5 separate regions of the Homo sapiens genome follow, and all the other regions are linked to region 5. The links are contacts of gene promoters, found by promoter capture Hi-C in blood cells and fetal thymus (Javierre and others, 2016). All regions are on one chromosome and are shown on one strand. Each heading gives the region's core, a stretch centred on a gene start or on the middle of the fragment in contact. The rest is flanking DNA. Distances are from core to core; before and after follow the strand shown. Region 1 has its middle 8.4 kb from the start of CYREN. Region 2 overlaps STRA8 (stimulated by retinoic acid 8). Region 3 overlaps TMEM140 (transmembrane protein 140). Region 4 has its middle 6.8 kb from the start of CNOT4. Region 5 holds the start of BPGM (bisphosphoglycerate mutase).

Region 1 (5,943 bases), core at 2,243-4,742, 530 kb after region 5:
GCGCAGGAGAATTACTCAGGCAGCCTTACAGTGGTTAGAAAGCAATGCGCCTGAAGGCACAAATGATGTTAAGCGGTAGGCACAGAAGAGGTTCCCAGAAGCAGATCCAAATTGGGATCCAAACCAGGCAGGAGAATTGCAAAACCTGCATAGGTATCGGGAGGCACCCCTTAATGGAATAAAGGCCAGAAGGAAAAAGGCAGCGAATTTGGGAGAGGTCTCAGAGGTATGCCAAAAGGTTGATTAGAGTCCCAGTGAATTTTATGAAACACTCTGTGAAGCATACCGGCTTTATACATCGTTTGATCTGGAGGATGTAGGGAATCAATGCATGGTTAACGTGGCATTTATGGGCCAGGCACAAGGTGACATTAGACAGAAGCTTCAGAAGTTGGAAGGTTTTGAGGCTATGTATATTACCCAGCTCATTCAAGTAGCTACTAAGGTGTTTGTTAATCCAGAGGAGGAAGCCAAGAAAGAGGCAAAGCACAAAGCCAAGGAAAAGGCTGATTTGTTGGCTGCTGCTCTGGTTGAGAGACTGGTTTTGTGAGAGGACGCGGACTTGGTCGTGGTCACAGTAGAGGACAAGCTAGGCCAGGGTTTGAAGGCCAGCCTAGGCTTGAGAGGGATCAGTGTGCAAGAATGCAAACAGAAAGGGCATTGGAAGGTTGAATGTCCAGAAAGAGAAAAGGAAGAAAGTAGCAGCCAGGGACCTGATGCCCGCCCAAGGCCTGCAGCCACTAGCCGTTGTTCTAAAGCTGGATGCCGATCTGGTCAGCTTAGCAGGAGTTGAGGAATATAAGGACTGAGACAGACTGGGCTCCATCTCTCTAGGCCTCCAGGAGCCCCTGGTCTCTATGAAAGTGGGAGGCCAAAAGATGGACTTTATTGTGCCCCTGTTAGGGAGAGACTTGCTTCAGAAACTACAAGCACAAATTTCTTTCAGGCCAGAAGGAAACATGACTCTGGATCTAAGCTGACCAAAAGCTATGATGTTAACTCTTACCCTCCACGAGACTGAGGAATGGAGGCTATATGTAAAAGAGGTGTACAGGCTGTCTGAATTTATGGACAGAATATTTGACAAACTAGTCACTGAAATACCTGAGGTGTGGGCAGAAGACAGTCCTCCAGGATTGGTCATAAACCGGGCACCAGTGGTAGTCAAGTTAGTTCCAGGTGCAACTCCAGTGCGTATTCCCCAGTACCAGGTGTCTACAGAGGCAGTGCGAGGAATGACCAAGCACATAAATCGGCTATTAGAACATGGGATCATAAAGAAATGCAAGTCACCCTGGAATACTCTACTCTTAACCAGTGCAAAAACCGTCTGGTGGGTTCAGGCCTGTGCAAGACCTATGGGACATAAATAAAGTTACTGTTACCTTACATGCGGTGTTGCCAAACCCGTATACAATGACGAGCCACATTCCTGCTCATGCTGCCTGGTTTTCCTGTTTGGACTTAAAAGGTGCCTTTTTCTGCCTCAGGCTAGCTCCAATGAGTCAGCCTATTTTTGCATTCCAATGGGGAGGAACACAATTCACCTGGACCAGGCTCCCACAAGGGTTCAAAAACTCCCCCACTATCTTTGAAGAGGCACTAGCATCAGACCTCAAGGCTTTTGTCCCACCAAATGACAAGTGTGTATTGTTACAATACATTGGTGATCTTTTGTTTGCGGCACCTACCGAGGAAGATTGCTTCCAGGGCACCAAAGATCTCCTTTGCCTTCTATGGAAGGCAGGTTACAAGATGTCTAAGGAAAAAGCTCAGGTCTGTGCAAAAAGAGTAAGATATCTAGGTTTCCTAGTAGCCCAAGGGCAGCGTGAACTCGGCAGTGGGCAGAAGGAAGCCATATGTGCGCTCCCCACTCCTGTCACCCGGCGACAAGTAAGGGAGTTTTTAGGGGCAGCAGGCTTTTGCTGTACTTCAATGCCAAACCTTTCACTCACGGCAAAGCCATTGTATGAAGCCACAAAGTGGGGGAGAAAAAGAGCCCCTCCTCTGGGGTAATGAGCAGAAGAAGGCCTTTAATGAGATCAAAAAGGCCTTAAGCCAAGCTCGAGCCCTGGGATTGCCAGACCTGACTAAGCCTTTCTTTTTCTATGTCCATGAAAGAAAAGGAATGACTACAGGAGTTTCAGTTCAAACAGTAGGATCATGGTATTGACCAGTAGCCTATTTATCAAAGCGGTTAGACCTTGTGGCCCTGGGGTGGCCCCCCTGCTTAAAAGCATTAGCTGCCACTGCCATGCTGGCAGAAAATGCTGGAAGCTGACACCAGGACAAAAGCTAATAATACGGGTGCCACACACAGTGATCACCTTAATGGAGCAAAGAGGATATATCACTGGCTATCTAATCCAAGAATGTTAAGATATCAGGGGCTCTTATGTGGAAATCCATACGTAACTTTAAAAACCGCGAATACCCTCAACCCGGCTACCCTGTTGCCTGTAGAAATGTCGAAGTTGCAAGACCAGTTTCCCCAACGCTATTGCGTAGACGTAGTAGATGAGGTGTTCTCAAGCCGGAAAGACTTAAGAGACCAACCCTTTAAGGACCCAGACGCTGAATATTTCACAGAGGGAAGCAGGTTTGTATCAGAAGGGGTCTGCAGAGCCGGGTACGCAGGGTGACTCTAAATTCAGTAGCCAAGGCACAGGCCCTCCCTACCAGGACCTCAGCACAAAAAGCAGAATAGCTCTAAATAGAGCACTACTAGTAGCCAAAGGAAGGACAGTTAATATCTATACTGATTCAAAGTATGCTTTTGCTACATTACATGCCCATGGAGCCATTTACAAAGAAAGGGGACTCTTAACTGCTGGAGGGAAAGAAATTAAAGAAGAAATCTTACAACTCTTAGAAGCTGTGTGGGCCCCAGACAAGGTGGCCGTTATTCACTGTAAAGGACATCAGACAAGAGGCGGCATAGAAGCAAAAGGAAATAGGAAGGCAGACAGAGAAGCCAGACAAGCAGCTATGTCCAACTCAAGTACTAAAAAGAAAACCCCAACCCTGCTGCTTCTACTAGAACCTTCCTTACCTGAAACCCCAAGCTACTCTCCCAATGAAAAAGCTTGGTTTGAACAAGAGAGCGGAAGTTACATACAAGGAGGCAGGTGGAAGTTCTCAGATGGGAGGCTAGCTATTCCGGAAGCAATAGCCCCCCAATTTATGAAGCAGTTTCATCAGGGAACACACATGGGAAAGACTGCATTAGAAACTCTTGTAGGATGGCATTTCTATGTGCCATGCCTTACTGCCATCACTCGAGCCGTTTGTGAGCAATGTTTAACCTGCGCCCAGAACAATCCATGGCAAGTGCCAACTCAGCCCCCAGGGATTCAAGAGACCGGAGCTACACCCTGTGAAAACTTGCTTGTGGACTTTACCGAACTGCCCCGAGCACGGGGTTATCAGTACATGCTAGTGTTTGTTTGCACTTTCTCAGGGTGGGTCAAGGCATTCCCTACCAGGATAGAGAAAGCCCAAGAAGTAACCAGAGTGTTGCTAAAAGACATTATTCCTAGGTTTGGACTGCCTCTAACTTTAGGATCAGATAATGGCCCAGCATTCATGGCTGAAGTAGTTCAGCAGCTGTCGCAGCTGCTAAAGATAAAGTGGAAATTGCACATAGTCTACCACCCACAGAGCTCAGGAAAGGTAGAATGGATGAACCAGACACTAAAACATCTGCTGAAGTTTTGTCAAGAACCTCATCTTAGGTGGGATCAGGTCTTGCCCATGGCCTTTCTCCAAGTCAGGTGTACCCTTACCAAATTGACTGGGCTTTCACCCTGTGAAATTGTGTTCGGCCGACCACCCCCGATTATAAATCAGGTAAAAGGTGATCTGTGGGAACTAGGGGAACTAACTTTAAAAAGGCAAATGCAAGCTTTAGGATTAGCTATGCAAAAGATTCATGGCTGGGTACGAGAAAAATTGCCTATAAGCCTAACAGACCCAGTTCACCCCTTTACACCTGGGGACTTGGTTTGGGTTAAGAAATGGAACCCAACCACACTAGGGCCCATATGGGATGGGCCCACACTGTAATCTTGTCTACTCCCACTGCTGTTAAAGTTGCAGGTATCACACCTTGGATTCATCACAGTCGACTGAAGCTGGCTGCGCAGGACCAGTGAACCAGTCAACAAGACTCAGACCATCCAACATGACTAATCCTGTGGCAAAACCACGACACCACTGAGAAAGTCAACCACCCTGCTGTGATCACTCTGGAGGCTGGTCAGTCTACGCACAACTGAAGCTTGAGAAGTCAAACCCTGCTGTAGTCACACACTGGAAGCTGACTAGTCTACGCATGGCCAAAGCTTGAGGAGTCTTCACTAGATAAGTAAATGTGGATAGAACTTATAAGCCTAGTAGTGATCTTAGTAATACTGATTATCTTATTATTATGTTACTGTTTTTGTTCAGGAAAAGGCCTATATTGGATCTGTGGAGCACAGGCATATCAGCAACTGCCAGCTAAATGGACAAGAGCATGTGTATTAGGAACAATCAAGCCATCCTTCTTTCTAATTCCTCTAAAGCAAGGGGAACTCTTAGGATATCCAGTCTATAATGAGAATAAAAGAACTAAAAGGAGCATGATCTCAAAAATAAATATAAATATCAAAAAAGACATAGACATAGGAGACTAGAAAAATAATCAATGGCCTCCTGAAAAAATCATTAAATACTATGGGCCAGCTACCTAGGCACAAAATAGGTAATGGGGATACCACACCCCAATTTATATGCTCAACTGTATCATAAGGTTACAGGCTGTTCTTGAAATAATAACCTATGAAACATCAAGAGCTTTTTGATGAACCTATGAACATCAAGATTTACTAGCTGTACAAGCTACACAGATAAGGAATGCCATATATCAAAACAGGCTGGCACTAGATTACCTCCTAGCCTCAGAAGGAGGAGTATGTGGGAAGTTTAATCTAACAAACTGCTGTTTAGACATAGACAATAGGCGAGCTGTCATGGGAATTACTGCCAGGATGTGGAAGTTAGCCCAAGTTCCAGTTCAAACCTGGTCAGGTTGGTCTCCAGATTCTCTCTTTGAAGGATGGTTTTCAACCTTTAGTGGGTTCAAAACCTTAATAGGTGGGTTCCTGCTTATCACAGGTGCCTGCCTAATTCTCCCTTGTCTCCTACCTCTTCTCATCAGAAGTGTTCAGTCAACTATAGAGGCAGTTGTGGCCAAATACACTACTACTCAAATAATGGCATTGACTAAGTATTGCCCCAAGAATAATATGTACCGACTCAAGAAAAAATAAACAACTGTGGTGCTATTAACCAACATTTATATAGAGCACCAAAGGGGGGAATGAAGTGGAAAATTAAAATAGGATAATAGCATAAGTAATAATAGTAAAATTATAGTAACAGAAATAATAGCTCATAGAATGAATTGCTGTACCAACCAAGGCTAAAAAGAATTTAAGTAGCCCCCCTGAAGTTAGAGTTAAAGAAGGATATTAACTGCCAGTCCCAAGAAACATTAACCATATCTGCCCTTCAGGTATTTTGTAGGCTCTGTAAGCTTGTGTTTTCTTCCCTCCTTGTACAGCTGCAAGGTCACAAGACAGATAAGCATAAGCTGCATACTAAGTTTTCCCAGAGATGTAAGACATGTTGCAAAAGTGTCACAAGATAATTAATGGACTTTGTTCTTGCTTCTGTAAGCCTGCTTCCTGCTTCACGTAATTCCTGCCTCAAAATGCTTAAAAGACATTCGTTTTCTTTGATCTATGCTTAGATTTTCTGGATGCAATTCCACTGAGCCAATGTACACCTAAAAATAAAAACTTTCCTGCATCCAATTCTTCGGTCTCTCTTGTCCCTTAATTTTCGCAACATTTCAAGACAGGAGGCCTTGCTAATGCTTAATATTCTGGTGGCGGCCCC
Region 2 (6,070 bases), core at 1,254-3,753, 590 kb after region 5:
GAGTTTTCAAGGCTATTAAAATGCAGTTCCAGGCCCTAGGGAGGAGAGTTCCAGACTGTTTTCTCTACACTGCTATAATTCCTTACACTGCTGGGAGCAGTTTCTTTGACATACTTTGCAACTGCAGAGGGCTTTTAGGAGAGCCGAGTTTTGTTTTTAAGTAACAGATCACTTCTTGATCTCATTTTTACAATAGTTAGCTCCCCCTTTCACAGTATGTTTCATTCCCCCTTCCTAGCCAAACGGCTAATCTTGGAATAAGGCGGAGGGTCCTGCCCTCCTCTCCCCATCCTAGACAGTAACTTCTGAGGCACTTCTTCCAGGCGAGCCAGCCCTTCACACAAATCACAGGTGCTGACGGGACAGACCCAAGTGTATTATTAGATAAAAAGAGCTCTGTCCACCGGGCGTGGTGGCTCACACCTGTAAACCTTGCACTTTGGGAGGCCGAGGCAGGCGGATCAGGAGGTCAGGAGTTCGAGACCAGCCTGACCAACACGGTGAAACCCCGTCTCTACTAAAAATACAAAAATTAGCCAGTCGTGGTGGTGGGCGCCTGTAATCCCAGCTACTCAGGAGGCTGAGGCAGGAGAATCGCTTGAACCCGGGAGGCAGAGGTTGCAGTGAGCCGAGATCACGCCACTGCACTCCAACCCAGGCGACAGAGCCAGACTCCATCTCAAAACAAAAAACAAAACAAAAAAAAAAGAGCTCAGTCTAACAAAGATCTACCTAAGACCCTGTCAGGGCCACAGAGACGGAAAAAATTCCAAGTCAATCGAAATAACTAGGAAAGAATGCCTTGTGCGGATCATACATAGCACAGTGGTTCCTAGTAGTGAACAGGAGGCAGGATCTAGAGGGAAGACATTGAAAATCGCTCAAGGTCTAATTAAGAGTAACATCTCCAGCGCTTGATTCTGCCCTTAAAGCAGAGTAGGAGGGTCATCTCCCATCTTTCCTGCGGTGTGCCCCCTCCCTGAGCCAAGGGGGGGCGGGGGTGTAAATTTCCCCCAGCTCCTGACCAGGGGGCGCCTGGGGGCAGGCAAGATGGAGGCCACGGCTCCAGGCAGCTTGGCCAGCATGCTCTGGGGCTGTCCCCGCCCCTAGGGGCGAGCAGCCCTGGCGGCTCCTAGAGGCGACTGGTGGGAAGTCTGCCCCCTATGGGGGAGGCAGAGGACTGCACTCTTGTCCAGGGCTGAAACTGTCCACACAGCCATCCAGGAATTTCAGGCTGAGCGTGTTTGGGCAGAAGGGAGGACACCCAGCACTGGCATTGGGAGAACTCCAGATTCCCTACAAGCCCAGAGGCCTTTGGTGTTAGTATCCTGAGACTGTTAGAGAACTTGAGGTCCTGGGAGGACCCTGTTATTTTTATATCTCTGTTCATCTAGAACAGTGCTTCCCACCCGCTTCCCTTTTTCTGTATGTTAACCTAAATCCCCTGGTGTCCAGACACATCTGTTGCTCCTTAATTTAAACAAGTAAAAACAAAAAACAAAAAAAACCTATATTCTTCTGTTCAAAAGGTTCTCATTTTCCCTGGGCAGTTCAAAATCTTCACAGTTTCACTTTGCTTCCTATTAAAGATTAGTTGGTATCTGGAATTGAAGACCATGAAGGCATAGGCTCTAATCTAACATAACCCTGGAGCTGGGCTTGAGGGGCCTCTGCAGATTGGTGCTGTTTTCCCTTGGAAGATACCACAGTGTAATTCCTGGTAACAGATGTGACAGAGACATGCACGGACCAGCATGGGCAACCACAGCATCACTGTTCCCATCTTCCTGCCCTGTTCCAAAAAGCAAAACAAGGGAAAGTTGATACACTGGGGAAGACCAGATTATTGATGAGAAGTTGTTTTCTGAGCTAAAAAGTGTTTCAACATCCCACACTGCCTGATTGGGTTTACCATCTCATTGGCCTATTTTCCATACTATAGCATAGTGGGAAAGGTGTCTTCCATCTCCCTTCCTCATAACCCCTTAATGAAGATTGTTTCCAGCTGCTGCCAGCTGGGGTGATGCTTGACACACAAATCAAGAGTTAGCGGTGGCTCTCAAAGTGTGAAAGTATAGGAATCACCCTGGGAGCTGCACGCTGGGTTCAGATCCGATGTTTTCAAGGCAGGGCCTGGGCATGTGTATTTTCAACAGTCTCTGCAGGTGACACTAACATACCTCAAAATTAACAAACCCCTGGCGGAGGTCATGCATTGTCTCTGTATGGACTGAGCTCAGCAGGGAGTAGACCTAGCAGAAACCGCTCACTGTAATTCACCAGAAACTCCAGTACTGAGCACCTAATGGGGGCCAGGCTCTGTGTTACGCACTGAGGGTACAGAAGTGACGAAGTCGCAGCCTCCCTGTCCAAAGAGCAGACAGGCTAGTGGGGAGTAGATCTCTGAGTAGTGGGGTGAGGCCTGATGGAAGGGTCTATGGCTCAGGTAAAAGGCCCTGGCCCCTGTATCTTATTAAAACAATTACATGTCAGTCCCAGAATCGCCTCTCCTAGGGAAGGGCTTCTGGCTTGTAAGCTCAGATGTAACAAAGAAGGACACAGTGATCATCTCCAGAACCCACTAGAGGCAAGATAAGGCAAAATGGGTTTCAGTTCTCTGTCGTCAGGTGACTTTTGCTTGCACAGGTGGTAAAGTGAATTTTCTTATTTTCTTTTTTATGTTTTTCCTTGAGGTATATCACAGAAAAATTCTCGAGTCTAAAGTGTACCCCTTGAGGGATTTTTTTTTCATATGCATACACCTGTGTAACTACTATCCACATCAAAGAGGGGGCATTCTTGAGGTAGAAAAGACCTCACAGTGGGGACAAGTACCTGTTCAGCTTTGAACAGACTAAAGTAAAGCCTGAGATCTCAGGGTACAGCTGCTCTCCTTGGCCACGCGTAAAATTAACCCCTGAAATTAACAAGTGTCTGGTGAGTATCTGCAATGTGTTGGAACCTTTCCAGGTAAGTTCCAGGGCCCCTCAACTCTTAAGTCCTATATGGGTGGTTTGCAGTTTTAGGAGTTGAATTTCAAAAACAGAATTTGTGTTGACCCTGTATAATCTCCATCTGCTTTTCTTAATTAGCAATTGACCAACATCACCTTCAAAGGGCTTTTGTAAACTTCTCAAATTTCTCTCACTGTAAATCTTGCCAATAACTGAATTCATGAGGGAGTGAATTTGGGGCCTTTACTTGGGAAGGGTACCTCCTTTCTGCCTGCCTCAATTTGCCTTCCTTTTCCTTTAATATTGTATTTTTATTATCTAGGGCAAAAAAAAAAGCATACTATTACATTACAGCTTATAATGGCAACCCCTGAAGAAAACAGCAATCCCCATGACAGAGCAACACCCCAGCTGCCAGCACAGCTGCAGGAGCTTGAGCATCGGGTGGCCCGGAGACGGCTGTCCCAGGCCCGCCACCGAGCCACCCTGGCAGCGCTCTTCAACAACCTCAGGAAGACAGTGTACTCTCAGTCTGATCTCATAGCCTCAAAGGTATGGGGACCTGGAGGAGGAGAGGGGACATCTCCACGGGGAAGGAGACGTTTTCACAGGTGGAGGGACTGTGTTGCAAGGCAGGGACTGGCCTGGAGCTGCCACTTCTGCTGGGGTAGCGACAAATGCCCTAGACAGGGTAATTTATAAACAACAGAAGTTTATTGCTCCAGGTTCTGAAGCCTGTGAAGTCCAAGACAAAGGTGCCATCAGATTGGGTGTCTGGTGAGGGCATGCTCTCTGGTTCATAGACAGGGCTATCTTGCTGTGTTCTCACATGGGGGAAAGACAAACAGGTTCCCTCAGGACTCTTTTATAAGGGCACCAATCACCTTAATCACCTTCCAAAAGCCCCCACCTCTTAATACTATCATATTGGGGATTGGGTCTCAACATACTAAATTTTGGGGGGACACAAACATTCAGACCACAGCAGGTGGACAATCATCTTTCCACCCTACGAACAAGCCCAAGATGCTGGAAATCAGTCAGCCCCTGGTTCCAAGTCTTTGCTGACCCAACAGCATCAACATGAGCTCTGGGACTGGGGAGAGCAAAACACATAGGAGTGCTCAGGGAGCTTGCAATCCACTGTATCATCATGCAGCTGCGGTTCCCTTCACCTCCTCTTTGGCCTGGCAGAGCACTGTGACTCCAGCCCCCTCAAGTCTCCTTTTTAGGCACCACTAGAATCCTTGGAATCTAGAATGTCAAATCCCAGGCTACTCTGCCCCCAGCTGCTTTGGGGTCCCCCCTCCATGCCCACCCCACACTCTGGCCACATCTCACTGCAGCAGTTCCCTGAGCCAGGCCTGCCTCTCATGGCCTCTGTGTCTCTGCTCATGCAGTTAGCTCTGCCTTTGGGATTCTGTGCACACTTCAAAGCTGGGCTTGGCTCACTCTGCTCAGCTGCCCTGCTCCATGGAATCTTCTGGACCCCTCCAGTTGGACTATTCCCTCCTCCTTGTACATTTTCACAGCCCTTTGCTTCTACCCCTTGTTAGTACCTACTTAATTCTATATTGTGTTATAAGGGGTTGTTTCCATGCTTGTCTTCCCTGTCAGAGGTCAGCACCCTGAGAGAGGGGACTGTCTTATGTACTCTGTATCCCTGGGACTTACCACATAGTTTTGCCCTTGTACATGCCCAAGGGATGCATGCAGCCCCTGACAGATATAGGTGGTCAGCCTAACAAACAACATTTAGCATTGCTCGTTTTTGAATAATCTTGCTGTTACCATTTTAGCATTGCTCGTTTTTGAATAATCTTGCTGTTACCATTTTGACTTTAATAATGTTACATACAGGAAGTAAGGAGGGAAGAAGGAAGGAAGAGAAGAGGAGGAAGGAAAGAAAAAGGAAGGAAGGAAAGGAAGGGAGGGAGGGAGGGAGGGAAAAAAGGAAGTTGGAAGGGAGGAAGGGAGGAAGGAAGGAGGGAAGGAGGGAGGGAAAAAAGGAAGGAAGTTGGAAGGAAGGAAGGGGGAGGGAGGGAGGGGAGCAGAAGGGAGGGGAGGGAGGGAGAGAGGGAGGGAGGGAAAAAGGGAAAGAGGGAAATTTAGAGTTCAGGTTGACAGCATTTGATAAGTTTTTAGATCATCTGGAGCGTATGCAGTTAGCAAATAAAAATAGTGGGAGAATAGGACATTTAATATTAACTAGCCCTTTGCACAGGGTTACCACTGAGCTGAAGTCTAGCTCTGCTTTGTGCAAGCCTGGGGTTGACGTTCATGCAGAATGCGCCTCTTCCATCACTCCTTATTCCACCTTCAAGCCGCCTCTGTAGTCATTTGCCTTTCTACAGCACTAGCAATTTGCTGAACAAAGCTTAACTCTTTCCAAATCCTTTGGCATTTCGGTGAGAACCCACTTCTAGGCTACAAACAAAACTTCCTGCCTCCTGTGCATCAGAACAAACTTCCTATTCTTTTTACTGACAAGGTTAAGGGATGTGACTTTGCATCTGAGGGAGCGTGGCCTCAGCCCTGGGAAGGGATTCCTGGGTCCACAAAATCAGTCTCTGCAGTGAGAGGCTGGCTTTCAGCATTGTCTCTGTCTATCCTCAGTGGCAGGTTCTGAATAAGGCAAAGAGTCATATTCCAGAACTGGAGCAAACCCTGGATAATTTGCTGAAGCTGAAAGGTAATGGAGCACTACTTGCCAACCCCATCTCCCTCCCTGGAGAAAACTGGATCTGTTTTTCTATTGAAAACAGAAGTTGGGTTACAATGAATCAACAAATATTTATTGAGGGCCTACTGTGTGCCAGGAACTGTGCTTGGGCCAATGTTGAGGGTCCCTGTCCTTAGTGAGCCTGCAGTCCAGCAAGACTGGCCAGAGTCACCAGGCCATGAGACTCTGATGAGTTCCCTACTGGAGTGCTGCCAAAGGCACCTGATCTCATCTTCAGAGGCCAGAGGAAAAGTGGGCTCCTGCTTGTCTAAGGCTCTCCCTTCACACCTAGAAGGAAAAACTGGACCCTGGTCTCCCTAATGCTGACCCTGGAGGGTTCAGGGTCCCACCCACAGCCCACCTGGGCCAGAAGGGTGGGAGAGACTCAACAGAG
Region 3 (5,858 bases), core at 1,130-3,629, 510 kb after region 5:
TCAACTTGAATTGTAGCTCCCATAATTCCCACATGTTGTGAGAGGGGACGCCAGGGGAGGTAACTGAATCATGGGGGCTGGTCTTTCCCATGCTATTCTCGTGATAGTGAATAAGTCTCATGAGAACCGATGGGTTCATCAGGGTTTCTGCTTTTGCTTCCTCCTCATTTTCTCTTGCCACCACCATATAAGAAGTGTGTTTCACCTCCTGCCAGGATTCTGAGGCCTCCCTAGCCATGTGGAACTGTAAGTCCAATTAAACCTCTTTTTCTTCCCAGTCTCAGGTATGTCTTTATCAGCAGTGTGAAAATGGACTAATACAATGGTGTCATGTTTCTCTGCTTTTACATGTTTCCTGTATCCTTCCATTGATTTCTTTGCGTCTGGTGTAGCAGTTGCTTGTTCCAATTTTTTGAAATTGCTTTTATAAGGGAGAATTTTTTCCTGAGGATATATGCATGTTGTTAAGATGCTTTGACTTTGATTTTGGATGCCTGCAGTCGTGTGATCTTTCTATGACTTCTTCGGCATAGGGTCAGTGTTCTCTGTGATTTCCTCAGTGGGATAGAGTATGGTAATTAGCTGAGACTAAGTCCCCAGAAGTTTAGCTGGGACTTGGATGCCAACTGAGCAGCCTTTGGACCCCAGTGGTGGCAACAGTGGGGTAAGTGTGCCCTTTTTAGGCCCCACAGCAGCTTACGCTGCTCTGGTGGTTAGTGGGTCTTGGAGGGCTGATTCTTGGGCCTCCACATGGCTTGCTTAGAAGCTAGTAGTGGGAGTGGTGAGCCCAGTGTGTGGGCATGATCTCTAGCCCCTGAGCAGGTGGTGTCATGTGAGTGATGGCAGTAGCACTGTTGAAGCAGCCAACTGGGATCCAAGCAGTCCATGTTGGTGTTGCTGGAAGCTGTGATGGGTTGGGTGAGCTACTCCCCAGTCTCACAGCCACCTGTAGCAGGGTGGTGGGCACTGTTCTAAGTGTGCTTAGGAGAGCTTGGTCTTCCCTGTCCCTTTCCTACCAGGGTGGCAGCTGCAGCCACATTGCCTGATTGTTAATTCAGACTGGTTATGAATCAGCATTAAACTCTCAAAATGGTGCCAGCTGTGGGCTTGTGAACAGAGAAGGTGGGGCCCCTATCAGGTGAGCAGCATGGTCAAGAAGCTGTAGGGAGGGTGGTCTACTTGAGTCTCGGTCTCACAGCAACCCGTAGCAGGCACTGGGTATTGTCCTAGGTATGTGCGGGAGAGCATAGATTCCTTGTTTCTCCTTGACTGGGCAGCAGCTTCAGCCACATCAAGTTGAACTCAGCAAGAAGGTGGGGCACAGCCCAGCATTAAACTCTCAAAATGGCACCTTGGGCCTGTGACCAGGAGGGCAGGGGTCCCTCCAGGCAGGCAGCATGGGCAAGAAGCTGTAGGGAAGGCAGTCTGCTCACATTTCAGTCTCAACAGCAGCATGTTGCAGAGCAGTGGGTATTGACCTAGATGTGCATAGGACAGCCTGATTTCCCTGTTAATCCTTGGCTGGGTGGCAGCTACAGCTGCACCAGCCCAATCTCAGTTCCAGGGAGGGGTGCTGCCCAACATTAAACTCTCAAAATAGCACCTGGAGCCTGAGACCAGAGAGGGAGGAGCACCTCACAAGTAAGCAGCATTGGCAACAAGCTGTGGAACACACAGGATGGCCACATCTCGGTCTCACAGCAGCCCATGGCAGGGCAGGGGGTCTTGTCCTAGATATGTGTAGGATGGCCTGATTTCCCTATCCTTCCTTAGCCAAGAGGCAGCTACAGCCTCATCAGCCCAAACTCAGGCTGGGAGGGGAATGCAGCCCAGCATTAAACTCTCAAAATGCTACCTTGGGCCTGGGATCAGAGAGTGTCCCTCCCAGACAAGCAGTGTGGAAAAGAAGCTGTGGGGAGGGGTGTCTACTCACATCTGTCTCAATAGCAGCCCACAGCAGGGCAGCAGACCCTCCCAGGGGTGCATGGGAGCACCTGCTCTCCCGTCTCCCTCCTTGAAGCAGCTCGGCAGCAAGAGCCATGTCTGTAGAGTCCCAGTATCTAGGCTCTCAAAATGGCACCCTGCTGAGGCTGCTCCAGGTTCAGATGCATGTGAGATTTTGTATTGGTTTCCTTTCTGGAGCAATGCCTCTGTGCAATGTTTAGGCAGCTCCGAATGTCAGGCCCAGGCCCTGGCCCAGTGGGTCGAGGTTTCCTTCCGTGGCCAAGATTATAAAAGTTTGTTTTGGAGCCCTAGGGGGTTCTCTCTTACTGTTTCCCCACATCAGGAGCCTCTCCCGACTCTCAGTCGGTTCCCAGCTGGGCAAGCTGCCTCGAATCCTCTCCTTACTTCTCATGTTTCCCATATCTTTTCTGGTTTATCCTAGCATTCTCTCCTAGACAATCTGTTCAAAATGGATCCACTTACTATTCTGGTTTCTCACCATGGTGGAGGCACATACTACCTGTGTTTAGATAGCCATCTTGATCCTTTCGAAAATTTACTCTTTCAATAAGAACCTGACAAATACATAATTTAGAATTAAATGATACAATATTTGTGTCTCTTTCAGCCGCCATCCCATTCTCCCTTATTAGTATGAAAATGTTAGAGGTGCTTAAACCAACAAAAAAGCTGCCTTAAATTAATCTCCTGAGAATACTTTCCTTCTATTTCCCTAACTAGGAATTTGTATCGCCTTTAAGCAGAAATCATCTCCCTCCTAAGGCCCTGCTCAGGCTGTAACTCTTGAGTGACAGTGGTCAAGTTACATGCTGACCTGGAATCTAAATCTGCATCTTGTTCCAGAGGACCTAGTGCAGCAAAGCATTATACTTTACTGTCACAACTAAGATGGCAAAAGGCTAACAGCCTTTATTTTTAAAGGGTTCATACAGACCAACAAACAAAAACTGAAACTCAAAATTATTTTTAAAATAGCAAAAGAACTGACAGCACTTCACAAAAGAAGAAATACAGATGGTCAACAAACACTTGAAAATGTTAAACTTTACTTATTATGAAGAAAAACTATCAATGATTCATCATTTGTCATTATCAAAGAATAAAAGACTCAAGAATATGCAATACTGGGGAGGATGGGATGAGACAGGCACTCTCTGAAACTGCTGGTGGAAACATAAGTTGATTCACAAAAATATTCACCATAGCATTCATAGCATTATAAAATAATGTTACAAAGCATCTATGTATAAACTATAAACTATGATACAGCTATATGCAGCCCTTAATGTTTAGGAACCATTTCTAGTTCACATAGAATGATGTTCACAAAGTGGGATACAAACATATATATTTATGTAATCCCAACAGTGTAAAACAATAGTGTAAAAAGAAGTGTGCTGTTCAGAGTGGTTATTTCTACGACCTGAAGTATAGATGACTTTTAGTCTTTTCTCTGCACTTTCATGTATTTTCTAGTTTCCTACAATCAGCATGTGTTATTATAAACAGGAAAAGGTTTATCTAAAAATGGCCACAGTGACTCAGCAGTCTCCCCTTTGCCCTCTGAAGGAAACACTGGCTTATCATTAAAGGACATTTAAAAGCTCATTGTGGTGGAAGTGTCATTACCAGGATTGTTTAAGAAAAGAAAAACAAAAACCAGGGAAGGCCCATGGGGAAGTAGAGAAGAGTGTCATGGGGTTTCCAACCAAAGATCCATATGCTGTCACTGCAAAATGTTTAGGGAAAGAAGCGAGGACTGACTTCCACCCTCTCCATACACAAGTTCCTGAATTCTGTCCATAGTTCAACAGAAAGCATGGATGGGCCATGCCAGCACTGTGCTGAGCATGCATACGACATTAAACACAACCCTCCCTCAGGCAGCTCTGCTGTCCTAAGATGTGTAACCAGGATTCGTACATGAAAGAACTCAGGGAGCCTATGTAGCATTTTCATTCGCTCATTTAAAAAAAAAAAACAAAAAAAAGAGCCCCTACTGTGTATCAAAATAACAAAACTGAAGACTGTTCCTCAGAGACATGACACTAGAGTGGAGAATAAATCCTAATTTATAGCTAAACCAGAGTGTGGGCTGAAGGAGCCCAGGAATGCTCTTGCTGCATGGATCAGATTTAGAGAAGCAGAAAGTAGAGTAGGACTCTAGGAGCTGGGGGGTGGCTGAGGATGGGCAGATGGGAATGTATTCATACACAGCCTGAGCAGCTGAGCAGGTGCTGGACTGCACAAGGCAAGAGGGGAAGCTGGGCCTCACCAGAGAATTCCAAGTTCAAGTTCCAAGTCGCACCAGATGATGGCGAGCCTCATAAGAGCTGGGACTGAATATAAAAAGGTGAGAGGCCACCACCTTCTCCACATGCCTGGTCCTGGGCTTCTTGGCTCGTTTTGTTTTGCTCTACATTAAAAGGTCAGTTGAGAGAAAATGAGGAAGTCAAAACAAAGGCTCCTGGCGTCTGGCAGGAGCTGCCGCAAGGTGGCTGATGCAATCTCCCCGAGGAGCCACATTAATTTTTAAAAAGGCAGCTGTTTTCAAAGCAAAACGTTTAATAATTTTTTTTGGAACCCCAGTGTAACAGAATTCAAATGGGAAAAGTGAGAGGGAGTGTTTAAACAAAGGCATCCCCAAGTCCCTTCCCAGTTGGTCCTGAACAATGGAGGAGGTCAAACCTTCTTTTCCACAGCATGATGGTATAAATCAGGGAAGTCCTGGAAATCTATTCCACACCCTAAAATACCCAAACCCATTAAAAGCACAGATATAGGCTTTTACAAACATTTACTAAATAAGCAAAACCATACAAAATATGTTCCCGTCGGCAATTTTTCCCATACCATGGACTCAAATGGTTAAAACTCCTTATCATCCCAGACTAATGCCACCTTTTCAATTCCCAATAATTCCTTCCGTAACAAGCATCATTGCTCCAAGAATCTCTCAACTACATTCAAACCCGAGTCTTCAGACCCTTGGCCCTCTGGGACCTCCAGAGCCTTTGACAGTGCCACCCAAGGCAGCAGCCAGGGCTTCTGCTGGGACAGCCCCTCACTCCTCCACTCTGACTGTCCCCACTGGGCTTCTCTGGAGCAGAAGCCACGGGCAGAACTGGGCAGACTGCCCAGTGCTGCTGAGTCCAGAGAAGCGGCATCTGAGGGGAGGCGGTGGCAGTGTGGACCCCACCCTTACTGTATTCACAGGCCCCAGCTCTCCATCAGCCAGCCTGCCCAGGTCTCTGCCAAAGAAGTCGCTGGTCAATCTTCATTCTCATTTTTGGCATACACCTAGGTCCTTTGAATGGAGCTGCCCTCTCTCTCAGCCTGTTCCATGTTCTTTATTTTCCCCACTTGGTCCCTTTCTGTAACAAATGCAGTGTGTAGAATGAGACAGACCTTCCAGTCAGCTCTGGGAAAGAGGAGGGAGCTGTTCCCCCAGAGGGGTCCCCTCAGAAACTGATCATCAGGGCTGTGTAGCCTTCAGGTCCCTTCCCAGGGCCACGACTCATTTTGCTGCTGAACACCACCTGGGACTCCCTGCTGGGGCTTCCAGGAGGCCATTTGGTATCATGGCCCCAGTACCTTGTGCCTCACAAAGCTTGAAGCTCTGTGTTCCTAGTCACTTCCTGGTGAATGCTGTTGTATTAGTCCATTTTCATACTGCTATGAAGAGATACCCAGTAATTTGAAAAGAAAAAGAGGTTTAATGGACTCATAGTTCCACATGGTTAGGGAGGCCTCACAATCATGGTGAAAGGCAAAGGAAGAGCAAAAGCACATCTTACATGGCAGCAGGCAAGAGAACATGTGCAGGGGAAATGCCCTTTATAAAACCATCAGATATCATGAGACTCACTACCATGAGTACAGTATGGGGGAAA
Region 4 (5,400 bases), core at 408-2,907, 870 kb after region 5:
TCGAGACCATCCTGGCTAATACGGTGAAACCCCATCTCTACTAAAAAAAAAAACATAAAAAATTAGCCAGACATGGTGGTGGGCGCCTGTAGTCCCAGCTACTAGGGAGGCTGAGGCAGGAGAATGGCATGAACCCAGGAGGCGGAGCTTGCAGTGAGCTGAGATTGTGCCATTGCACTCTAGCCTGGGCAACAGAGCAAGACTCTGTCTCAAATAAAAAAAAAAAATTAGCCAGACATGGTGGTGCACGCCTGTAGTCCCCGCTGCTTGGAAGGCTGAGGCACAAGAATCGCTTAAGCCCAGAAGGTGGAGGTTGCAGTAGTCGAGAACACGCCCCTGCACTCCAGCCTGGGCAACAGAGTGAGACTCTGTCTCAAAAATAAATAAATAAATAAATATAAAGAAAGGCAAGGGCCAGATTATCCAGGCCCTTGTAGATAGGAAACACAGCTCTTATATCACAGGAAAAGGAAAGCCTATGGAGGAAAGAGTCATGATCTGACTGACTTCTTGAAAAGACAATGCCACCCAATGTCCATCAATGGGAAAGTTATAAATTTAATTTCAGTGCTTCCATTTTCTGGAATATTACGTGGCTATATGAAAAAAAGAAAGGGAAAGAATGACATATTGACCTGGAGGAATGCCCATGATATGTTTATCAGGTAAAGAATAAATAAATACATTATAACGTAATATATTGTGTAATGTAATACATTTTTTAGAAATGAAAAGAACCAGTGCAAAATAATACAAATAGATTTCTATATAATCACAGAAAAAAGAATAGAAGGATTCATTACACATCAAACATTTAGTGTGTGTTGGTTACCTGGGAGGATTGTAATTAGATAGGCATAGAGGGAAAGCATAATATTTGCTTTATAAATTAACCAGGCTTAGTGGCCCATGGCTGTAGTCCCAGCTACTTGGGAGGCTGAGGTGGGAGGATCCTTTGAGCCTAGGAGGTCGACCCAGCAATTCTGCAGTGAGCTGTGATCGTGGGCAACAGAGACCCTGTCTCAAAACAAAATGGAAAAAGCAAAAACAAAAGCTTTTCTTCAACCTGAGGAAGTTGATTTTTAAAAAAGAAAAAAAACATTTTCTTTATAAATTGCTTCATTGGTTTTTTTGCATATGAATTCGTTTTATACATTTTTAAAAAATAGATCACTCAGCTTTGTGGAGAATGGATTGGAGAAAGGCAAAAATGAAAATGGAACAACTAATGAAGAGAATATTTCAGTCATCCAGATGGTAGTTCTGAATGTGGTGGTAGCAGTAAAGATAGGGGGAAAAAAAGGTGATGAATTCAAGATATATTTTTTTGGAGTTGAAATAATAGGACTTGGTGATGTACTGCACATGAAGTTCTCATCAATGACTCTCAGATTTTCGGGCTTCAATGGCCTTGTAGATAGTGGCTCCTTTAGTAAAAGGAGAATGGCGAATATTGAAATAGCATCTGTAGAAAGCAGAGCAACTTTATCAGAAAAACAGCAGGATTTCAGGGAAATAATGGCTTCTCATTTGAGACTCGTGAATTTAAAAATCATAGTGATTATGTCTTCCCCAACTTAGTGATTTTTCTTAATAATGTTTATTTGCTTGGTTTCTGCCAAAGAAACTACGTACAGTTGGGTTTATCTAGGCTGGAGGAGGACAATAAAAACAAGAGAGGGTTAAGGGGCAACCAGAATTATAGATTGTTTCCCATTTTTTAAGCCTTTTAAAATTATTAATATATAGATTTTAATTTTAATTTTTTTTGAGACAGCGTCTCACTGTGTCACACAGGCTGGAATGCAATATAGTACAATCTCAGCTCACTGCAACCTCTACCTCCTGGGCTCAAGCAATCCTCCCGCCTCAGCCTCCTGAGTAGGTGGGACTACAGGTGCACACCACCACATCTGGCTAATTTTTGTATTTTTTGGTAGAGACAGGGTTTCCCCATGATGCCCAGGCTGTTCTCAAACCCCTGGCCCAAGTGATGCACCCACTTCTGCCTCTCAAAGTGGTGTAATTACAGTCATGAGCCACTGCATCTGACCTAGATTTTTTGTCTTGGAGGTGGGAGTCTCACTATACTATCCAGGCTGTTCTCAAACTCCTTGCCTTAAGTGATCCTTCTGCCTCAGCCTCCAGAGTCGCTAGAACTGCAGGCATGAACCACCACACCCAGCTAGATATTTTAAATAAATAACATCATTTTCAAGTTACATTCTTGGGATATATTCTCAAATATAGACTTGCTAGGCCAAGCTTGTCCAACCTGCAGCCCACAGGCCACATGGGGTCCAGGATAGCTTTGAATGTGGCCCCACACAAATTCATAAACTTTCTTAAAACATTATGAGATTTTTTTTTGTGATATTTTTGTTTCAGCTATCCTTTGTGTTAGTATATGTTATGTGTGTCCCAAGACAATTATTCTTCTTCTAATGTGGCCCAGGGAAGCCAAAAGATTGGACACCCCTGTACTAGGCCAAAGGAAATGATCAGTTTCATGACCCTTGTTATGGCTAGATTGCTTTAATATTAATGCATTCTAAAGCCACTTTATTCGTGGGACTTTTTTTTTTTTTTCCAAAAACCCATTAATTTTGTGGGTTTTTTTCTGTTATTTAGTTAGTTTTAATCACTTACTTAGTATTTGAGTGTTAAATATTGGGTATATGGTGGTAAACAAAACACTAAACTCAGAGATCTTAGGGTTGAAAAGGAGAGACAGACCACAAGTAAAATAATAAGCAAATTACTTATACTGTCAAAGTATTAGGAAGGACAAAGAACAGAATGATAAGAGAAATATCAGGAAGGGATTTACTTTAGATTGGAAAGCCTCTCTGAAGAGATGACTTAATCTGAGATTAAAAGGATTTGAAGAGATTATCCATTTAATGAATGGCCTATGCCAAGACCCGAAGCAGGAAGAAGTTGAGCATATTCCAGGAATGGAAAGTTAGCCTGTGAAGTTGGGTCAGAGAACACAAAGGCAGAGTGGTAGGAGATGAGGTTAAGGAAGGAAGTAAAATCCAGATTATGCAGGGCTTTACATGAAGTTTGGATAAGAGACAATTGAATGATTTGAAGCTGGAGAGTGACACGACTCAATTTATCTTTTCAAAAGACCACTGGGGCTGTCATGTGGCAAGTAGATCAGAGATAGGCGGTGAATGGAGAAGTGGAGAGACCAGTGAGGACACTACTGCAGAAGTGCAGCCTGGAGATAATGCATGGCTTGGACCAGGGCAGGGCTGGGACTAGGTTAGGGGAGTAAGGCAGCGTTTGCCTTGGGCACAACATTTTAAAAATTTTTATTTATTTTATTTTTTATTATTATTATTTAGAGACAGGGTCTTGCCTAGGCTGGAGTGCGGTAGCATGATCATAGCACGCTGTAACTAAGATCTTGAACTCCTGGGCTCAAGGAATCCTCCCACCACAGCCTCCCAACTGCAGGCATGCAGCACCACCATGCCCGACTAAGTTTTTTATGTTTTATAGAGATGAGGTCTCACTATGTTGCCCAGGCTGGTCTCAGACTCCTGGCCTCAAGCAGTCCTCCCTCCTCAGCCTCCCAAAGTTCTGGGATTTCAGGCATGAGCTACCGTGCCTGGCCCTAGGGTATAAAATTTAAGCAAACATTTAAAAACTCAGTAATTAAGGTCAATAATGTTTAGATAAAACATTTTAAAAAGTCAAAGTTAATGCAAAAAATCCATGATGAACAAAATATTAAAATATAAGATAAAGACAAAATCCAAGGCTGGGCATGATGGATCACGCCTAGAATCCCAGCACTTTGGGAGGCCGAGGCAGGTGGATCAGTTGAGCTCAGGAGTTCGAGACCAGCCTGGGCAACATGATGAAACCCCATCTCTACAAAAATTATAAAAAATTAGCCAGGCATGGGCATGGTGGCGGACACCTGTAGTCCCAGCTACTTGGGAGGCTGAGGCAGGAGAATGGCGTGAACCCTGGCAGTGAGCTGAGACCACGCCACTGCACTCCAGCCTGGGTGACAGAGCGAGACTCCATCTCAAAAAAAAAAAAAAAAATTAGCCAGGCATAACACTTAATAGAATTGTTTGATTTATTTATGAATGTATGTATTTATTTATTTAGAGACAGGGTCTCGCTGTGTCACCCAGGTTGGAGTGCAGTGGTGCGATCTCGGCTCACTGCAGCCTCTGCTCTGCCTCCTACGTTCAAGCGATTCTTGTGCCTCAGCCTCCTGAGTAGCTGGAATTACAGGCGCATGCCACCACACCCAGCTAATTTTAGTATTTTTAGTAAAGAAGGGGTTTCACCATGTTGGCCAGGCTGCTCTCGAACTCCTGACCTCAAGTGATCCGCCCACCTCGGCCTGTCTAAGTGCTGGAATTACAGATGTGAGCCAACACATCCAGCCACTTCATAGCAGAATTTTAAAAGCATTTGCTTTAAAACATGACAAGGATACTCACTACTATCATGATTACTATTTAACATCATACTAGAGGGGCTAGCCAATGCAAAAAGACATAAAAAAGAAATAAGACATATATAAACTAGAAAGAAAGAAAAAACTCACTATATTCAGTTATAATGATTGTCAGTATGGAAAATATATGAATAAATAACAAAAACTAAAAGCAATTCAGTTCATAATATAAACATACAAAAACCAGCAGTATTCCTATATATCAGCCACAAGAATACAAAACCATATGAAAAATGCACATGACTAAATAGTAAGACTTGTTAAAACTTGGTAAGGAGTGTTTACAGAGTCATTGGGATTTGTGGCTTCCAGTAATAAAGAGCATGCAAGGTGATTCTGACCAAACTTCTCTCTTATTATGCGAAGGGGGCAGAAGAACACACACCACAAATGCTGCATAGTGTAAATGTAAAATAAGATTTAGTGGGGAAAAAATACTGGCAGAGATGCAGCAAAGCATTATTCCCTATTATCCCACAGAGACACAACTTCCATAAATAGGCTAGGTATACTCCCCTCCCAAAAAAGGGGCGATTCCAGGTGATAGACTGCACTCCTGTGATGTTTTACCTACTTACTGAGAATGGGAAATAGGGAGTAGGCAATTATATAACAATGAGAACTTCCTGGTTGGGAATAACCTTGTTAGAAAGGAGCAGCTCCTGGAGTTCAGATTCTGATAATATTCCTTTTCTCAGACCTGCTGAAGCAGGTTCTTGCTAGGCTACTTGTCTGATTAGCTATTGCCACAAAAGTGCTGTGTAATAACTACCCCCAAGATATAATGGCTTAAAGCATAGTCAGTTATTTTCTCCAACTGCAGGTCAGCTGAGGGTCAATGGATCTAAGCTAGGTTCATCTCAGCAACTCTGCTTCAAGCTGTAAGTCCAGCTGGGATTGGCTCCTCTCTG
Region 5 (5,639 bases), core at 1,043-3,542:
TTTGGATAAAAGTGAGACTACATCAAAAGCTGTTTGATGACACTGAATTATTTTCATAGTATCTATATCACTTGCTGTATCAGAACTGAAGTCCTCATGACTGGTCTTCAATGGAAGTGAATCCTAAAATTAATCTTAATTTAAAAAATACATTGCTTTTGGGGTGAGGAGGAGAAGGCAGCAGGAAGAGGAAGCATCTTCCCAGAATTATATGAATTAGCAACCTTGGGTCCTAGCCCAGGATTTGTCCCCAACCAAGTAATTCTGAGCACATCACTTAAGCTTCAGTTTCTTTATCTGTACAACAAGGAGCTAGAGTTTAATTTCCAAAGCCCTGTCAAGTACTAAGTTTGTACAAGTCTAATATTCTTTGGAGTTCATCTTTGCCTTAAATGGATTTATGATCATCTTTGTGAACCACGACCTCGTTATTTAAAAATTCATAAGAGAGACAGCTCATCGAATAGACCAGGACACAGGGTTCAGGATATGATACTGTAACATAATTAAGTATGGAGAACAATCTTGCCATAGGGCAAAAGTAACTCCTGAAATTCTGTTAGCCTCTGTGCACATTTGTCTTACAAACATGCTTGCTCCTGATGAAAATCTGCTTTTTAATTCCTTCTAGACAGAATCACTGATATAAGCTTCCATCTTATATCAAAATGACTCATTCATAAGCCACATACTCTTGCGAATGATTCTAAAAGGCAAGTGATGTTTGATATTAAGGTTTTATGTGACAAGCTAGCATTCCATGGGTGTCCATAACAACAGTAAACTTAAATCCAATGAGTAGGCGCCCTTAAGTCCAGACTAAGTAGCCCTAAATGCCAAATGCCACAAGACTGTCACTTGGTAATGACTGTCATTAGCCTCCGGAGTATGGATGGTGGGCACTCTGAATAGGAGCTTTATTACACTGTAGAAGAAAAGCTTTCTCCTTACTTTGTCCTCAACTGATATTGAGAAAAAAGCAAGAGGGCAAATGTATAAGATTTGGAAGCTGCCCCTTCCAGCTGTTCTGGCCTGAACTCTAGTTAATCTTGTGCAAGTTAAATTCTAACTATCACTAGGTGAGACCTATCACCTGCTGGGACCTGTCAAGCCTCGGATTAGTGCCGTCCCGGAAGTAAAGTTCTGTTGATATCCCAGGAGGAACTGTCATGCTCTAACATGGATAAATGAGATACAGAACTGGCTACGATTAGGTCTTAATGAGTTCAATAAAGAGTGTGTCACAGAATTTCAAATGTGGAAAGATTATCTTTTCAACTGTATGTATAATTTATTCTGAGGACTTGCTTGCGTGTCACAAACCTAATGCATTTGTTAGGAGGATGAAACAGGAAAAACTCACAGGAGGACACGAAACACTACTTAGGATAGCTTCTAAGAAGGGAATCTCCCATAACATTCCTTATCTTTCCCGCCCACCCAAGAGTTCTGACACATATGCTTCAAAACCTCGTGTGGTAGTTCAAGCCTGCTTAGAAGCTTTTAAGGCCTCGTGCCAGGTTTCCGGTGTTTTCATAGATTTCTCTTGTTCAGTTATTGTCGCCTCCAAATTTGTCATTCTCTCATTCCACTCTAGCCTCCCTTCCTCTGTGCAATAAGCTTTTAGGGCATTCCATTAATCACTTTTCTTCCCCACCTAAAATACTGTCAGCAAACTGCCTAGGGGAATCCCTATAAAAGCGGTAAGAGAAAGTAAGGTTGCGTTACTGCCTATAAATTGGGCACTTTAAAGGCATTTGTTTTAATCACGACTTAAGACTTTCAACCACGAGTAATTTGTGCGAAAGGAGCTTCTTCTGGGAGGATACCTCGGCTTCGTCTTCAGGTTTCAATCCCTAAATTTCCCATAAGTAAAAGAAACATCACCTCCTCTCTTCCAAGAGTCCGCTGACACCTGTCTTCACCCGCAGGTGTTTCTTTTAAGACGTTAAACGCTTTCTAGAACCTCAAACAGCTAAGATGCTCCCCGCACCCGAGGTTTTGCACCAGCGACGCTCTAGGGTGTGTTTTTCTACTTCCCTAGGCCCAAGCCTGCCCGCTGGCGTCGAAGCCAACTCCTTACTGGTTCAGGTATGTGCTCGTCTCTAGAGTAAACCAATCAGAGCCCCACTTCTTACTCCTGGGATTTGGTAAACGGAAGAGACCTCTCCTGTTCCGGGAGTAGGCCGGGACCGTGGATGAGTGACAGTTCGACTTTCCAATAGGCAGAGCCCTAGGACCTGCCCACGTCTGGTTCAGGGGCTAGAAAAGAGCGTCGATGCCGGCGGCAGTGATGAGTCCTAGGAGGCGCTGGCTCTTTGGCGGCTCGGAGGAGCGGCTGCTGCTGCTGCTGCTGCTGCTGGTGGCCCCTTTGCAGGTGAGTGGCTTTGTTTTAGAAAATGTTGCGAACGTTTACATTTTTTAGTGATGTGATGTTTTATTTTTGGGTGCGGGGAAGGCCAGTTTCTTTACTTCCCCCGGTTTAGTCGTTGGTGGGAGTCTGGTGCCCACTCCAGCCCTCAAGCTGGGACCCTCACTTATCGCCCCGGTCCCTTTCCCTTGTCCCTATCTCAGAATGAGCCTCGCAGGCAGTCACCGTTCTGTCAACTGAGAGGAGGAGCCCGCTTTGGTAGTGCTGTCCTTATGGCAAGAATATATAGAAGTTGGAGGGAAGATAAACTCTCTTCTGGATGTCTGAGGTACTGTGTAGCAGAGCCCTTCCAATAGTAAGATCCCCTGGAAGGAAGCAGGGCGATGCCGCTGTATTTAGGGTTCTGGCAGACCTGGCCCTATCTATCATTTTGTGTAGTAGACAGAAAAACTCGAATGCGGTGAAAAGAGAAGGAGGTGAATATATGCAGTGTTTTCATGTAGGAATCTGGAGCCAAATCACAAGTTCTTAGAACCACTAGAAATAAAAACGTAAGTGTATTTTCCTCTTTTCTAAGGGACGAGCTGGTATTACACTAGAGAAGGTCAATGAAATGCATAATTGCAGTTAAGTTCACAGTTAAGCTTTAAAGAATAGTTGGTTGTTAGCTAACTTATAACTCTCATCCCCCTACTGCCTCCCTTGCAAATTACGGAAGATCTTTAGCTTGTGAGTGGTACTAGAATGTTAGCTGACTAAATGCAGACTCTTTCCAAGAAGGGGAAAAATCAAAAGCTAAGTTTCACCTGTAGGTACTAAAGGTTTTTTAATAGTGAAAGCAGAACTCATGTCAATTTGTCTTTTATTTTTTATTTTTTTTGAAACGGAGTCTCGCTCTGTCGCCCAGGCTGGAGCGACTGCAGTGGCTCGATCTCGGTTCACTGCAACCTCCGCCTACCGGGTTCAAGTGATTCTCCTGCCTCAGCCTCCCAAGTAGCTGGGATTACAAGCATAGGCCACCACGCCTGGCTGATTTTTGTATTTTTAGTAGAGACGGGGTTTCACCATGTTGGCCAGGGTGGTCTTGAACTCCTGACCTCAGGTGATCTGCCTGCCTCGGCCTCCCAAAGTGCTGGGATTACAGGCGTGAGCCACCGTGCCTGGCCTTGTCTTTTTTCTTTCTTTCTTTCTTTTGTTTTGGTTTTTTTTTTGTTTTGTTTTCAGACGGAGTTTCGCTTCTGTTGCCCAGGCTGGAGTGCAATGGCGCGATATTGGCTCACCGCAACCTCCGCCTCCTGGATTCAATCGATTCTCCTGCCTCAGCCTCCCGAGTAGCTGGGATTACAGGCATGCGCCCCCACGCCCAGCTAATTTTGTGTTTTTAGTAGAGACAGGATTTCACCATGTTGGCCAGGCTGGTCTCGAATTCCTGACCTCAGGTGATCTGCCTGCCTCGGCCTCCCAAAGTGCTGGGATTACAGGTGTGAGCTACCGCGCCCGGCCTTCTTTTTTTTTGAACTGCCTCCCGTGAGTCCAGGGAATAGCTCTTTCTTAGCCATCTTTGTATTCCAGTAGCACCTCATACACCGCAGATGCTCCCCAGTTGGTGGTGGACTTCAGAGAAGCATAATTCAAACAGTGTCATAGTGGAAGGAGCTCTGAGTTAGAAATCAAGAACATTGGCTTTAGTCCTGAAACTGTTACTATTTGTGTGATCTTAAACAAATCATTTCAACTGTGACTCTTAATTTTTGCATTTTTTTTTTGAGACAGGGTCTCGCTCTGTTGCCCAGGCTGGAGGGCAGTGGCGCAATCTCTGCTCACTGCAACCTCCACCTCTGCCTCCTGGGCTCAAGCGATCCTACCATCTCGATTTTTGCATCTTTAGAAAGCAGATGTTGCATTAAATTATATCTGAGATATAAACTCTGTATTTAAAGTCTGTTTTAAAGTAAAAATTATTAGTATACAAGCAGAATCTCATTGCAGTAAATTCTGTACCATCTATTAGCAAGTAAAAGTTCCCAGCTTCAAGGATATATTCTTGTTTTTTAATTTTTAATTTTTGTGGGTACCTAGTAGGTGTATATATTTATGGGTTACATGAGATATTTTGACATAGGCATGCAATGCATAATCACATCAGAGTACATAGGGTAGCTGTCACCAAAAGCATTTATCCTTTATGTTTCAAACAATCCAATTGTACTCTTTTAGTTATTTGAAAATTTACAATTAAATTGTTTTTTTTTTTACTATAGTCACCCTGTTGTGCTAGCAAATACTAGGTCTTATTGATCTTCCTATTTTTGTCCCCATTACAAGGATATACTCTTTTGTGTTCCTATTTAAACCAAACCAGATTATTGTAGAAAATTTGGAGCATACCGAAGTATAATGTGGCAGAAAAATGTCACTTAGAAGCAACTACTGTTAGTGTTTGGGTAGAGCTTTTAGTCTTTCTTCCTCTTTTGCCTGCTGTGGTTGGTTGAGATTAAGAGGCACATTTTAAGTAATGATTGATGCACCTAAATTCACCTGGCCTTCATCTTTGTGTGTCTGGGGCCTGAAGAACAGAGGTCACAAACGTGTTTGAACCGAATGGTTTCTTGAAACATCCTTGGAATGAAATCTGATATGAAAGATGTTTATATGGGTGGCAGGACAAAAAGTATTACTTAATAACAAAACCCTTCTGCTGAAACTTAGCCACAAATATGAGGAAAACATACTTTGTAAAATATAAATTAAATGTTAACCACTTCATTAAAGCATTTGGATTGCAGAATATTAGTACTTGGTAAGCTTCTGAGACTGTATCTTACCATCACCTTCTTCCATCCCACAATATTTGATTGCATTCCTCCTTCTACCACCTAATTTAAGCATTTCTCCTCTAATTCCTCCCTTCATTTTACTTTATTCCCAGCTTTCGCTTCTGCTCATATCATCGGCAAGGTAGGATTGCTTTGACGGGCCTGAGATCTGTGCCATTATTTATGAGTTAGTCAAAGTCTGCTCCATTCTACCTCTCACTTTTTGGTAGAGTGCTTCACCATAATCTCATTTAATCTTTCTGATAGCCCCCTGAGAACAGTAGTTTCATGATCCTCATCTTTATAGATATGGAACCTGAGGTTCAAAGAATTTAAATAAGTTAAGATCACATTGTCAGTCAGTAGCAGAGCTGGGCTCATATCTAGGTTGTTTTTACTTTAGACTTTTGGAATTTGGTGGACACAGTTTGTGTTGATAAAAGCTACTACCC

What was found. Contacts are between HindIII fragments. The CHiCAGO score rates a contact against its expected background, and 5 or more counts as called.
Region 1: a contact is called between a fragment that was not itself captured here and the fragment with the promoter of BPGM in region 5, in 13 of 17 cell types (naive CD4 T cells, naive CD8 T cells, total CD8 T cells and 10 more). The highest score is 18.0, in naive CD4 T cells.
Region 2: a fragment that was not itself captured here is called in contact with the fragment with the promoter of BPGM in region 5 in 3 of 17 cell types (naive B cells, total B cells and neutrophils); the score reaches 7.6 in naive B cells.
Region 3: a contact is called between a fragment that was not itself captured here and the fragment with the promoter of BPGM in region 5, in 13 of 17 cell types (total CD8 T cells, naive CD4 T cells, non-activated CD4 T cells and 10 more). The highest score is 17.9, in total CD8 T cells.
Region 4: a fragment that was not itself captured here is called in contact with the fragment with the promoter of BPGM in region 5 in 2 of 17 cell types (fetal thymus and total CD8 T cells); the score reaches 6.1 in fetal thymus.

The regions. Positions count from the first base shown.
Region 1 is chr7:135,176,104-135,182,046 of GRCh38, forward strand. No RefSeq gene overlaps it. Among named protein-coding and RNA genes, the nearest start is that of CYREN, 8.4 kb to the left of the region's middle. The HindIII fragment of the contact is 819 bases long and covers 3,084-3,902 here.
Region 2 is chr7:135,237,211-135,243,280 of GRCh38, forward strand. It overlaps STRA8 (stimulated by retinoic acid 8), which reads left to right. Exons shown (of 9, transcript NM_001394401.1): 2 at 3,309-3,506; 3 at 5,571-5,646. The coding sequence starts at 3,315. Among named protein-coding and RNA genes, the nearest start is that of STRA8, 6.4 kb to the left of the region's middle. The HindIII fragment of the contact is 5,652 bases long and covers 1-5,329 here.
Region 3 is chr7:135,156,802-135,162,659 of GRCh38, forward strand. All of the region lies in intron 1 of TMEM140 (transmembrane protein 140), which reads left to right. It also overlaps a transcript of CYREN not described here. Among named protein-coding and RNA genes, the nearest start is that of CYREN, 11 kb to the right of the region's middle. RefSeq lists enhancers at 4,295-4,384, 4,465-4,514. The HindIII fragment of the contact is 6,388 bases long and covers 1-5,573 here.
Region 4 is chr7:135,514,171-135,519,570 of GRCh38, forward strand. No RefSeq gene overlaps it. Among named protein-coding and RNA genes, the nearest start is that of CNOT4, 6.8 kb to the left of the region's middle. The HindIII fragment of the contact is 1,211 bases long and covers 1,053-2,263 here.
Region 5 is chr7:134,644,561-134,650,199 of GRCh38, forward strand. It overlaps BPGM (bisphosphoglycerate mutase), which reads left to right and starts at 2,293. Exons shown (of 3, transcript NM_001724.5): 1 at 2,293-2,377. All of the region lies in intron 1 of LOC124901750 (a long non-coding RNA gene), which reads right to left. RefSeq lists enhancers at 2,270-2,419, 2,520-2,629 and a silencer at 5,637-5,639. The HindIII fragment of the contact is 1,395 bases long and covers 1,619-3,013 here.